Regions from separate parts of the Homo sapiens genome. Here region 2 is linked to region 1. The links are contacts of gene promoters, found by promoter capture Hi-C in blood cells and fetal thymus (Javierre and others, 2016). All regions are on one chromosome and are shown on one strand. Each heading gives the region's core, a stretch centred on a gene start or on the middle of the fragment in contact. The rest is flanking DNA. Distances are from core to core; before and after follow the strand shown.

The links. The method cuts DNA at HindIII sites, captures the fragments that hold promoters and counts their contacts. A CHiCAGO score of 5 or more calls a contact.
Region 2: a fragment that was not itself captured here is called in contact with the fragment with the promoter of RMDN1 in region 1 in 1 of 17 cell types (naive CD8 T cells); the score reaches 5.3 in naive CD8 T cells.

What each region holds. Positions count from the first base shown.
Region 1 is chr8:86,504,513-86,511,028 of GRCh38, forward strand. RMDN1 (regulator of microtubule dynamics 1) reads right to left here and starts at 4,174. Exons shown (of 10, transcript NM_016033.3): 1 at 3,980-4,174; 2 at 2,483-2,600. The coding sequence starts at 4,108. It also overlaps the pseudogene SLC2A3P4. RefSeq lists an enhancer at 3,919-4,088. The HindIII fragment of the contact is 14,106 bases long and covers 2,718-6,516 here.
Region 2 is chr8:85,497,651-85,504,166 of GRCh38, forward strand. LOC105375937 (a long non-coding RNA gene) reads left to right here. Exons shown (of 7, transcript XR_929129.4): 3 at 3,405-3,535. Among named protein-coding and RNA genes, the nearest start is that of CA3-AS1, 36 kb to the left of the region's middle. The HindIII fragment of the contact is 2,056 bases long and covers 2,678-4,733 here.

The sequences.
Region 1 (6,516 bases), core at 2,924-5,423:
TGCACGTGTGTTTAATACTATCTTCACTGTAGTTTCCCTATTTCTGCTGCAAAGGGCAGGAAGGCGGACCCTGCATATGATAGGCCTTGGAGGGATGGCTTTTTGTTCCATGCTCATGACTGTTTGTTATTAAAGGATGAGTATAATGGGATGAGCTTTGTCTTTATCGGGGCTATCTTGGTCTTTGTGGCCTTTGAAATTGGACCAGGTCCCATTTCCTGGTTTATTGTGGCCGAACTCTTCAGCCAGGGCCCCCGCCCAGCTGCGACTGCAATGGCCGGCTGCTCCAACTATACCTCCAACTTCTTAGTCGGACTGCTCTTCCCCTCTGCTGCTTATTATTTAGGAGCCTGTATTTTTATTATCTTCGCCAGCTTCCTCATCACCTTCTTGACCTTTACCTTCTTCAAAGTCCCTGAGACCCATGGCAGGGCTTTTGAGGATATCACATGGGCCTTTAAAAGGCAGGCACATGGTGCAGATAGATCTGGGAAGGATGGCATCATGGAGATGAACAGCATCCAGGCTGCTAAGGAGACCACCACCAATGTCTAAGTCATGCCTCCTTCCACCTCCCTCCCAGCATGGGAAAGCCACCTCTCCCTGAATGAGAGACCTCATCAGGATGAACCCAGGACTGCTTCTGAATGCTGCTACTTGATTCCTTTCTTATCCCACGCACTCCATGCGCACCTCAAGGCTGGGGTTTGTTGGATTTTCAATGGTTTTTTAAATATTTTATTTCCTGGACATTCTCTTCTGCTTAGGAGAGACCAAGTGAACCTACCTTCATTTCAGGAGGCAATGGCCACTTGGCATATGACAACTTTGCCAGTTTTTCCTTCCTTGGGTTCTAATATTGCCGCACTAGGGGATATAGGAGAGGAAAAGTAAGGCGCAGTTCCCCCAACCTCAGACTTATCAGGAAGAAGATATACATATGAGTGTGGAAGGCAGACGGGGTTTATGTAAGAGCACCTTCCTCACTTCCATATAGCTCTACAAGGCAAATTAACTTGAGTTTTATTTATTTTACCCTCTGGTTTAATTACATAATTTTTTAAGTTCTGGGATACAGGTGCAGAATGCGCAGGTTTGTTACATAGGTATACATGTCCCATGATGGAAATGTTTATTTTTTTAAGTGTAATTTTGCCAAATAATAAAAACAGAAGGAAATTGAGATTGGAGGGAGGTGTTTAAAGAGAGGTTATACAGTAGAAGATTTCATGCTGGGGAGGTTAGCGTGCAATATGAAGAATTTAGGGAGAAATGTAGTTCATTATTGGAGGGTATATTATGTGGTGCCTGAAGTCTGCACATTACCTCTTGACAATTTCTGTCCTTCAGATGGAAACTCTTAATTTCCCATAAAAGTCATATGCCTACATAATAAAGTTATTGATTTCCTTTGGAACTTTTTTCTTTTAATAGTTTACATGTAGTAGTACTTGAAATCTAGGATTATTAACTAATATGGGCATTGTAGTTAATGGTGGTTGATGGGTTCTAATTTTGAATGGAGTCAAGGGAAGGGAAAGTTATTTCTAGAAAGCTTGTTCCCCCTCACTGGACCAAACAACTCCTCCTTGTAGGAGACTCATTACTTTTGAAGTAATCCCACCACCTATCTGGTGGGAGAGCCATCCAAATGAGAAACTTAAAATAATCAGTTCTTGGTAGAGATTCATTATTTCTCCATTTTGTGCTTTAGGAGATTTTAGGTGTTGATTTTGTTTTATTTTAACTCATATCTTTAAAGGAATTCCCCAAAGAATGTTTATAGCTAACTTGGAATTTATAACCTCAGCTCTGGGATTTTTTTCTGAACGATTATTATCTAAAGGTGTGTTGTTGCCTTTAGGGTCATGCCATGCTTGTCTATGTCTGTTACCATGTCACTGTGGTCCTATGCCAAGTGCCCTTAGGGGGTCTCAATCTTTCCAACAGACCATGTTCGAGATAGTATGAGTCAATGTACAGTGTAGCCCACACTTGAGAGGATGAATATGTGTGCACTGTCCCTTTGCTCTGGATGGAAATAGGTTATTGTTGACTTATTTTTTCTGTGTTCCTACAGCCCCTTTTTCATATGTTGCTCAATTTCCCTTCCCCTTCTTGGTGCTTACACATCTCAGACCCTTTAGCCAAACCCTTGCTGATAACGGTATCTTGGTTCTCAGTTCTCACTGTTTCCTCTGGTCACGGAGACTTCAAATAAAAATGCACATAGCTATGGAGTGGGGTTTAGCTGGAAAAGGTGACCTTCTTCCAACTTCACGTCAACTTCTGGCTCCTCAAACAGTAGGTTGGCAGTTAGGCAGGGAAGTTGTTTTCCCATTTCTCACTGAGCAGATTGTGAATATTTCCATATGGATTTTCTATTATTAACATTACCCTGATTCTTTGTTTTAAAATAAAAATTCTGAATGTACGCACACAAAAAAACTCTAAATGTTCCATATATCTAATTTATGCTTACCTTTGGCTGTGGCATGAACCACAGCAGCCTGAGAGATAACCTGGTAAGTTTCAAAACCCAAATACGACAAAGCTGAGAGTAAAAGGCCTCTTTTGAAAGTTCCTGGGTTTCCCATTACCTATGGAAACAATTATGTTAAGAGTTACAAACTTTGAAAATTTGAAGGTACTGCTACCCCAAGCAAAAATTACATGAATTTTCTCCCACCCCCAAAGCAATCGATCATAATACTGGAAGCTTAAAAATTACTTCATCAAAATCTTTAGTAAAACTATCTCAAAGCGTATCTTATTGAGAAAAAGATATCCCCTGGAGTCGCCGCTCATCTAAAAATCACACTCCTGCTGGAAAGGAAGAGCTACAACTTATTTGCTACAACTTATTTGCAAATGCATGGATATTGCAAATTGTATGAAGTAAAATATGAGACACCAACACATAATAAAAATGAATCTTACAGACAAGATTATCATATATAGTAATTACTACATATAAAAATGTACATGGCTAACTTTTAAATTTTTTTGTAGAGACAGGGTCTCACTGTGTTGCCCAGGCTGGTTTCAAACCCCTGGACTCAAGCAATCCTTCCGCCTCGGCTTCCCAAAGTGCTGGGATTACAGGCTGAGCCAAGGGGCCAGGCCTAAAATGGGACTTCAAACTCATCATTGTTCCAATTTGAAAACTTACGGCTAACTAGTTTCATACTTAGAACTCCTCCCATCTCTCTGCCTATATTATCTATAACCTCCCCATTTGGTTATAAACTTCCAAGGAAGGGGAATATGCCAAATTTTAACCACCCCTCCCCACCATCAGTCCCATAATAATTCTGAAAGATTTTAACTGAGCAGTTAAAAATTTGAGTTTAAAATAATGAAACCCCTAGTTCATGTGAAATATATCATATGCATTAATGCCATTCCAATTCCCTGACAAGAATAAACAGAGGCCCACGAGCAGTCTAATAGAAATACCAGAACTGAGACTACAACATGCCGACAACCTTCATTGACGTTATGCAGATACAACGGGCAACTGAGAAATAAACATTTTTAAACAAAAACCTAAACAGTATGAAATCTCTGCTTCTGAGTCGTAGAACTTTTTAAATCACACACCACACTTTTCAAAGTCTGAAAGGGGCAGCCTCAAGCGCTGTTGTATCTGTCATCGCCTACAGGGAGAATAATTTCACAGCGGTCAAGGTTCTTTCCCGTCCTGTTTTACATTTCGCACAAGAAGGGCGGGTAGCAGGCAGCTTCTGGGGCGCGTGGGGGCAAACCCCACTCCTTCTCTGACAGCCCCAGTTAAGGATAGTGGAGGTTTGCAAAATGGAAGGGACCTGTCCGGGCGTTCCAGGCACAGTGGCCCCGAGTTCTTTCCTCGGTTCACCACATTCCTTAGGCAGCGCGGGGCCGCCACCACTTAAGTTAAGGGGGAGCCGGAACCCACTGAGTAGGAAGTGAGGAGCGGGAGCCAGGACCACGGGGGTACCTCGAAGCCGCGGAATCGACAGGGGCCGCAATGCCCGCGGCTGCCCGAAGTCCCCGCAGGGAGACGAGACCCCGGGGCGGCTCCACGTCGGAAAGGCAGAAGGCGCCACAGTCGAGCAGCCAGCGCCATGACCTGCAACTTGCGGGCTGACCCTGCACTACTTCAGGCAGCTACGGAGGCGGGCGGGGCTAAAGGAGATTCAATCCTTCCGGAAAGAACCGCGCCCGCCCGCCTCCTGCACAGCACCTCTTCCGCCTCCTGCCCAGCACCTCTTCCGCCCCCATGGTTTCCGGTGCACGGGCTTAGGGGGTGGGAAATACCCCGATTGGGTGGGACTTAATGGACTTTCCGCGCCTGCGTCCAGGACTGAGGCCGTGAGAGCGCTCTCTTCAGGCGCTCTGACTTGTTTCTGCTCCATCTCTCTAGGGGGTCTTTCATGGTTTGGGCACAAGGATTCGTCGCCAGAATAGAACTGAAAGCTCGGAAATAGACCCGAGAATACAAGTATGCCAGAAAAAAAATTGTCATTTTAATTATCTGCTGCCTTCAAAAGTAGATTGAATCTTGGTACTAGTGGGTCTTTTTTGGAAGTAAATAATTGGAAGAATTATGTTGCCCAACATGAAGAAGGGAAAGTCTCAGTCTCTTCGACTGAGCGACTCAAGGGGGTAGATTCAAGAGAGAGTCCAGAGCAAAGAAACAAAAAATGCAAAGCGTTTTGGGAAGAGGAACTAGCGGGAGGAGGCCTCTGGAAAGGATACTGATGCCCTTGAATGCTAGGGCATGTGTAGTAAAAAACAGAAACAAAAACAAACCCTGGTCTCCCCTAAAATTCTTCAATAAGATGTTTTACTTACTCGAGCAAAGTATTTTATTTTACTCGAGTAAAATAAAATTTCTTGCTCGAGTGGAATTCTTTTGTGGGAAAATGAAGAAATTTTGGATCCTACTTGAGGCCTGATCAGGGTGGGTGGAAACACAGACTGCAAAGGGAGTACCTACTATATGGGTTTAACGAAAAATCTTATGGGTAATAAGGGAGGCGAGTCATGGTTTTAAAAAATTAGGTTGCATTTCTATGGTACTTTTAATACTGTATAGGGAATTAATACATAGTCGTATTGATCTTCCGAACTACCTTGTGAAGTAAGTGGTATCCCAGGTTTACAAATGAAAAAACTGTAACTCAAAGAGATGTATTAACCTAACCAAGGATATGTTAGAAGACAGGAATCCATGTCTTTCTACTCTGAGTCCAGTGCTCCTTCTACTATATGATTGCTACCTCCACTAGTCCCATTAAATCAGCTGTATTTCTTTAGGATTATGTCTTTAAAGTCTATCTTTAAAAATATATAGATCTCCTTCCCAACTTCTGAAACCTAGCTGTTTTTTCCCAAAGACAGAATCACTTTTATTTTATGCATTTCTACTGGCAGCTACCCCCTCAACATTGCTAAATGTTTATGCCACTGGATACCATGATAACAGTGAAATTAAGTTTCTGATATCTCTGCTAGAGTGAATTTGTAATTAAGTTTTTAGCTTTGAAAAAAAAATTAGATCCTAAGAAAAGTTGCAGGAACTCCCATATATTCTTCAGCTAGATTCAGCCATTGTTACCTTTTTCTCACATTTGCTTTATCTTTCTTTACATATCTTACCTATAATACACATATTATATTCCTAGTATTTTCTGTTGTAAGGCCTTTTGAGAGTAGATTACAGATATCATGACTCTTCAGTCTTAGAAACAAGACATTCCCTTACTTAGTCCCAGTTTAATTATCAAATTCAGGAAACTGAAATTGACAGAATACTATTATTTAATATACAAATTTTGTTTAATTCCCAATACTGTCCTTTATACTAATGATTTTTTTTTCTAAATTCAAGATCAAATCTTGATAATGTCTTGCATTTGTTATGTTTCTACTTTCTTTAAATCTTTAAATCGTCAGCCTTGGTCTTTCACGACATTAGTATTTTTTAAATGTATAGTCCCATCGGTTTAAAGCAGGGTTTCTCAGCCTTGGCACAATTGAACTTTTGGGCTGAAGAACTCCTTCAGCCCGTCAGGCCATCAGATGATTGCAGCCTTGGCCAATATCTGACTGCAACATCAAGAGAGATGATGAGCCAGAAGCACCCAGCTAAGCCACTTCTAAATTCCTAAACCACAGAAGCTATGACAGATAATAAATGATTGTTCCTGTTTTAAGCCACTAAATTTGATGTAATCTGTTACACAGCAACTGATAACTAATATAACAGCCAAGTAAAGCATAGAGAGTTGGAGTGTGGAGTTTCAGAGGAAAGGTGTGGAAGTTTGATAACCTTAAGAATATAGGCTGGGCGTAGTGGCTCACACCTGTAATCCCAATATTTTGGGAGGCCAAATCGGGAGAACAGCTTGAGCCCAGGATGTTTGAGACCAGCCTGGGCAACACAGTGAGACTCTGTCTCTACAAAAACATGTTTTTCTTGTTGTTGTTTGTTTTTTGTTTTTGTTTTTGTTTTTTAATTTGCTGCATGTA
Region 2 (6,516 bases), core at 2,456-4,955, 1.0 Mb before region 1:
TATTGCCTGCTGATAAAGTAGGAAGTCACAGACATTTCTTGTGGGCAAATTCCACAGGTGATGGTCCCCTGAAATGTCTCTGATTCTGTCTCCTCCCATCACTCCTGCTACCAGTGAGGGAAAGGGAGATCTGCCATTGTCCTGGGGCTGGGGATCCACTCACATCTCTGGTAGCACTGTCACCATTGCCAGGGCTTCTAGCTGAGCCTTATAGTCTCATGGCCTTAGTGCATACCTCCTTCAACTCACACAAGTTGTGATGCTCTTGAGAGGTGAGCACAATTCACAATTGCAAAAATGTGGAACCATCCCAAATGCCCATCAATCAACGAGTGGATAAAGAAATTGAGGTGTGTGTGTGCGTGTGTGTGTGTGTGTATATGATAAATATATATATGATAAATACATATATATGATAAAATACTACTCATCCATACAAAGGAATGAATTAATGGCATTTGCAGCAACCTGGATGGGAAAGGAGATTATTATTCTAAGTGAAGTATCTCAGGAATAGAAAACCAAACATATGGTTTTCACTCATAAGTGGGAGCTAAGCTATAAGAACACAAAGGCATACAAATGACACAATAGACTTTAGGGACTCAGGGGGAAAGGGTGGGAAGAGGGTGAGGAATAAAGACTACAAATCAGGTTCAGTGTATACTGTTCTGGTGATGGGTGCACAGAAATCTCACAGATCACCACTAAAGAACTTACTCATGTAACTAAATACCACCTGTTTCTCAAAAACCTACAGAAATAAAAAAAATTGTTTTAAAGACACAAGAAATTAAAAAAAAAAAGAAAAAGAGGTGAGTAGAATCCCTTCTTGTCTCTCTCTATATTATCTATATTATAATGTATTGGCTTAGAACTGTCTGTGCTTCTAAATGCTGGCATGCACAATTCTTTCACACACACACACACACACGCATGCACACACACACGTCATTGTCTCTCGAGTGCTCCCACAGCGCAGGCCCCATTTGGCCTTCACACTGAGGACAGCTTGGGGTCCAGGCATCATCTTCCCTATTGGTGCTTTCCCTTTTATGATGCAATCTGGTTTCAATCACATATCACCCCAGTTTATGCATTTTTACAGGGTTGAATCTCAGTGAGGTCAGTGTTCTTGTATCTTTTTCAAAGGCAGGTAGATTTTCAGCTCTTATATACACTAATTCATTCTAACAGATACTTGGGCTATTGTCTAACTCTGCTCCTCCTCAGCATATAAGCTTAACCTTCTTATGGATTCACTGAGTGAGAGGGGATTCCTATATCCACTTACCAACTGTGGTTGACCATGTATTAGTTTGCTAGAGTGTCTGTAACAATGTACCACAAACTGAGTGGCTTAAACAATAGTTTATTGTCTTGCAACTCTGGACCCTGGGACCAAGATGAAGGTGTTGGCCAGACCTGTGAAGGTACTAGAGAAGGCTCTGTCCCAGACTTGTCTCCTAGTTTCTGGCAGTTACTTGATTTGTGGCAGCATACCACCAATTTCCACAGGGCATGCTCCCTGTGTATCTATGTCCAAATATCCTCTTTTTATAGACACCAGTCATATTGGATTATACCATGGAATGCCCACTCTACTCCATTACTTAAGATGAGCTCATCTTAACTAATTCCATCGGCAATGAATAGGACTCCAACCTTATATTATTTTGAGGGGGAGAGACACAATTCAACCCTTAACACCATTCAAAATATCTTTCCGCACAAAAATTTGTGTTACATGACAAAGGGAAACTTTATTCTTCACTAATTGCTAAACGTGTCTTAATTGGGCCTACACTTTATTTCATTGTTGCTTCCTGTTAAAAAACTTCATAAAATATATATGGCATGTTTTAATTACTGTGACAGATTCAATATAAATTTTAAAAGGAGAAAGAAAGCACATTTTAATGTACCATGTGTTTATATTATATGTAAATCTTTCACGATTGGCGAAAATTTTTACAGAATATTTGTGGAGGTCCCAAGTTAGAAATATTAAACACTTTATCAAGCTGCACTCATGTCCCTGATGTCTTCAAATGTATGTTGTTACAAACCTCATTTTTCAGGAAGCAATGTGCGTCTCGTTCATGTCCTGTGTTTCACCTGTATGTTTGTTATCCATATAAAGTTATAGTTATAAGACTTGTTATTTTACAATGAGAGCAAAGTTACTTCTTTTTTTTTTTTTTTTTTTTGAGAGGAGTTTCACTCCTGTCACCCAGGCTGGAGTGCAGTGGCGCCATCTTTGCTCACTGCAACCTCCACCTTCCGGGTTCAAGCAACTCTCCTATCTCTGCCTCCCAAGTAGCTGGGATTACAGGTGCCTGCCACCACACCCAGCTAATTTTTGTATTTTTAGTAGAGATGAGGTTTCACCATGTTAGCCAAGCTGGTCTCAAACTCCTGACCTCAGGTGATTCACCCACCTCGGTCTCCCAAAGTGCTGGGATTACAGGCGTGTACCACAGTGCCTGGCTGCAAAGCTATTTCTATACATGTCAGAACATGACATTGTTATCAGTGCATCAAATTTCTTTAATCTTTAGTAAAATAAAGCTGTCACAGTCTTGTTAGGTGACAAAAGTACTTTTTGTATAAAGTAAGCATGAATTGGGTTTTGTGTCAACTCATTGATTCTATAAGGAGAAACAATTCACTTTCAAGCTTTTTTCTTCAGTAACTAATACTCTGGCACATCTGGAGTTCAAATACTATGTTTTTTTTTTAAAGAATTCTGAAGCAACACTTCATATAATTTTCCATTGTTCTTCAAAGACTGGAAAAAAATGAGTTAGACTTGTATTGAAAAGGCTTTGGGCAGAGAGTTAGGCAAACTCCTTGCTGTTGATGCAAATTAAATCAGATCATTAGGTTAGAGATCATATAAACTAATGCTGTGGTGTTCCATGTTGAGCAGGTCTATGCAAACCAACCCCAAAATTCAAGGAAGCTGAGAGGCCAAAGGAGGAGTGACAGATCAGTTTCTTAGAAAGAAATAGTTAATAGGAACTTATGATCAGAAGCTGTGTCTGGTCGGTATCTCGGGAGGTGGTGGGACAAGATGTTGGAAACTCATGCTATTACCCCACCAACCCAGGGCTTACATACCACAGGGAAAGGATAATTCCAAAAGGATGTGTAGGACATCTGAAGTATGATAACTGAAGTATATTAGGTTGTTTGACCTAAAGGTAAGATTTACAGTAAATACCTTTGCGCGAGAAGCAATGGATAAACTGGAAATCTTAGAGGCCCTCCAGGAACAGAGGTTGATCAGAAGCCAACACGGCAGATTAGCATCCAAGGTGGAGTTGCATTAGCCTCCGCAATTGGTCATAATCACCTTGCCAGGCCCCATTCCAGCTAAAGTTGTTTCTCAATAATTTCAGGAAAGCAGTGGTCTGCTATTCTCTGAGCACCATTGACCACTTATTGGATTGTGGAAGAGACCTAACTCAAATTTGGACCAAGAAGTGACTTGAAATCAAGATCTCTCCCCAGAAGAGACAACAATGAATAGGTGAGCCTATCAGGTAGTCTTCCTTTACAAACAGCCTGAAGGCTACAAAGAGGATTGTGTAACAAAGAACGGAAAACAACACAGCACAGGGAGCCTTCAAGACAAAAACCCCAAAACTCAGAGGGGAGGATGAAGAAGCTAGTCCTCAGAGCTGTCTGGGTCTCTCTGACAGCTCTTTGTTTCCGTCTGGTCTGTTTATGTAAATTCTTAACCTCCCATCTCTTAAGGTGGCCTGACTTATTATGTCCTTTAAATAATCCAAAGTGTCTACATATGCGTAATCAGAGACCACATTTTTCCATGCATATTTACCGAGATCCTTCCTCCCATCGCCACTACCCATTAGGTGCTGGGCTCTGTGCTGGAGATTTCCAGTATTCCGGGAGTACACAGAAGAAATTTTTTAATTAATTTTTTAAAAATCTATACAAGAGACCACTTAAATATGTCTCTTCTATTAGCAAAACTGTACTCAGTCTCTATTTCTGTGTTCCAGAAAGATTTTGTGAATGAATTACAAGCCCATTTTGAGCCAGGGGTGCAAGGATTTCTTCCCTTATGTGACATGTTCCCACAAACAGCACATGACAAGCAATTACATCTAAGGATGAATGGAACATTGTTGAGTACCATTCTAAGAATTCCAGCCATTATTTTTCTTTTTCAAAATAAACTTGAAATAACATAATATGTCACAGATGATTGACAAAGTTTTTGCTAGTGTATGATGGTATTATATTTAATTGCTAGAACTAGAATTTAGTTAGACCATGCACTGGCTCTTTAATTCACCTATGTGGTTTTAGGGAATTCACCTCCCTGAGCCTCAATTTTACCATATTGAAAAATGTAGATAGTAACTTTAAAAGTTCTTTTGTGAGGACTGAAAAGGATAATGCATTTTTAAGTACTTAGCATAGTGCTGGGGCACATGACTAATCAATAACTGTTGGTTAATTTCCTTTGCTCCCTCCCTCCTTCCCTTCCTCCTTTCAATTTTTGTTATCAATAAAGCCACATGCAGTCTGAAAGTCTCCTTTTAAGTTTTACATCAAGAATCACATCCCCAAACCTAGATACCATATATTTTATTATTCTGAGTCAGTCCCACTTCATGTGATGTTCACTTCCTGTGTCACGTATAACTGGCAGACCTTAAATACAAACTGAAGAGCAATCATTTTCTTGGTCATACATAAGCTTTCAGACAAAGTATGATGAAATCATTTTTAGCTCTACTCTTTCTACAGTAAAGTATTGCATGCAGTTGGGAAGTGGGAATTATTTCTCTTTTGGAAATTGGAAGCCAATAGTGTACAATATACACTTAATTCTTCCTGTGATAGACATGGATCTCTTCAGTGATACAATCTGCGCCACACTCTGGCATTCTTTGGGCCCCTCCCAGCTATCTAGTATTTCCAGACTTCTTATCTAGGAATTGGCAGCATCTCAACATCAGGCAACTGTCTCAATGACTATAGTAATATCGTTTTCTAAAAATTAAAGAAACAGTTAAGTAATTACTTTTAGAAAGTGCTCTTTAGATACAAATCAAAACAGTATATTTGGTTAAGAGCTTGTCAGAACATTTTTGTTTCCAAGTAAAGATCTGAAGGCTTGCTCTCTGTGCACACCTGGACAAGTTATGTCAACCAATTCACCTATAAATCCATGTCATTGTTCACAGCAAATCTCCTCGAAAGTGTAGTTCATAATTGCTGTCTCAACTTCCCCATTCTCTTCTTTCCCTGGTTCACTTCAATCAGCATTTTGTCTCCACTAGACCATTGAAATAGCACTAATTTAAGATCACAAAGACCTACACACAAAAATCACAAAGATCTAAATGAAGCAAACTCTCCCTTCTGTGTCCTAATCTTACTTGACATCATGATGCAACTGATACAGCTCATCACTCCTGCTTTTTCTGTGTTTAAATGTTTTTTCAGTGGCTTCAATGTTTAGTTTCTGGTTTGCTACCCACTTTGCTGGCTTTTCTTTCTCTGCCAGACCTCCTACCGATGGAGTTCCCTATGCACCTACTCTTTGTTGTTCCTCCTCTAGCTACACAGTCTACCTGAGTGATCCAGGATTTCCATTTCAAATGCCACCTGCGTGTTGAAGACTATCACATTTGTGTCCTTCCTCCCCACTGAACCACAGCCTCTCATGTCCAATTGTCTATTCAGCTTTGCCACTGGGATGTCTAAGAGGCATCTTAGACTTTAATATGACCAAAAATACCAACTGAGCTTGTCTGTGCAATCTTCTTCATTCTCAGTGTTCTCCAAGTCAGTAAATTGCATCATCTTCCATCCAGTTTCTCAAGCCAAACACTTGCAACTCACATCTGATTCCTCTCTCTGTCTAACATTCTTCATGCAACCCTATCCAAACTATCATTATATCTTCCGCGAACTACTGTAATAACATCTCAGCATGTCTCTCTCCCTCTACTCTGGCTACTCTGAAGTTTATTTTCTACACAGGAGGCAGAGAGCTCAAACAAGCATTAATCAAATCATATACTCCCCTCCATAACAGCTTTCAGTGCCTTCCCATTGAATCAATAAGGAAATCCAAACTCTCTCCCTTGCCCCCAAGGCCTTACATGATCTGACCTGCCTTCCTCTTTAAACATTTTGACCTCCTCTCTTTCCCTGCATTCCAGAGCCTCAAGGGCTTTACACTTGCTATTCCTTCTCCTTGGAATGATTTTCCCTGAGATTTTCAAATGGCTATTCCCTCTCATTTGAGGTCTCAGCTGAAATGATGCCATTTTATTAAGATTTTCCTTTACTATCCTAGTAAAAATAGCTCCCCCAGTGCCCTACCTCCATCACTTTCTTGTGTATCATCCTATTTTATTTTCTGCAAAGCACCTACTGTTATTTGATATTATTGTACTTATTTATATGTTTTGTTTATCTCGTTTCTCTGACCTGTGCTATGTGAGATCCTTGTATTACCAGCATGCA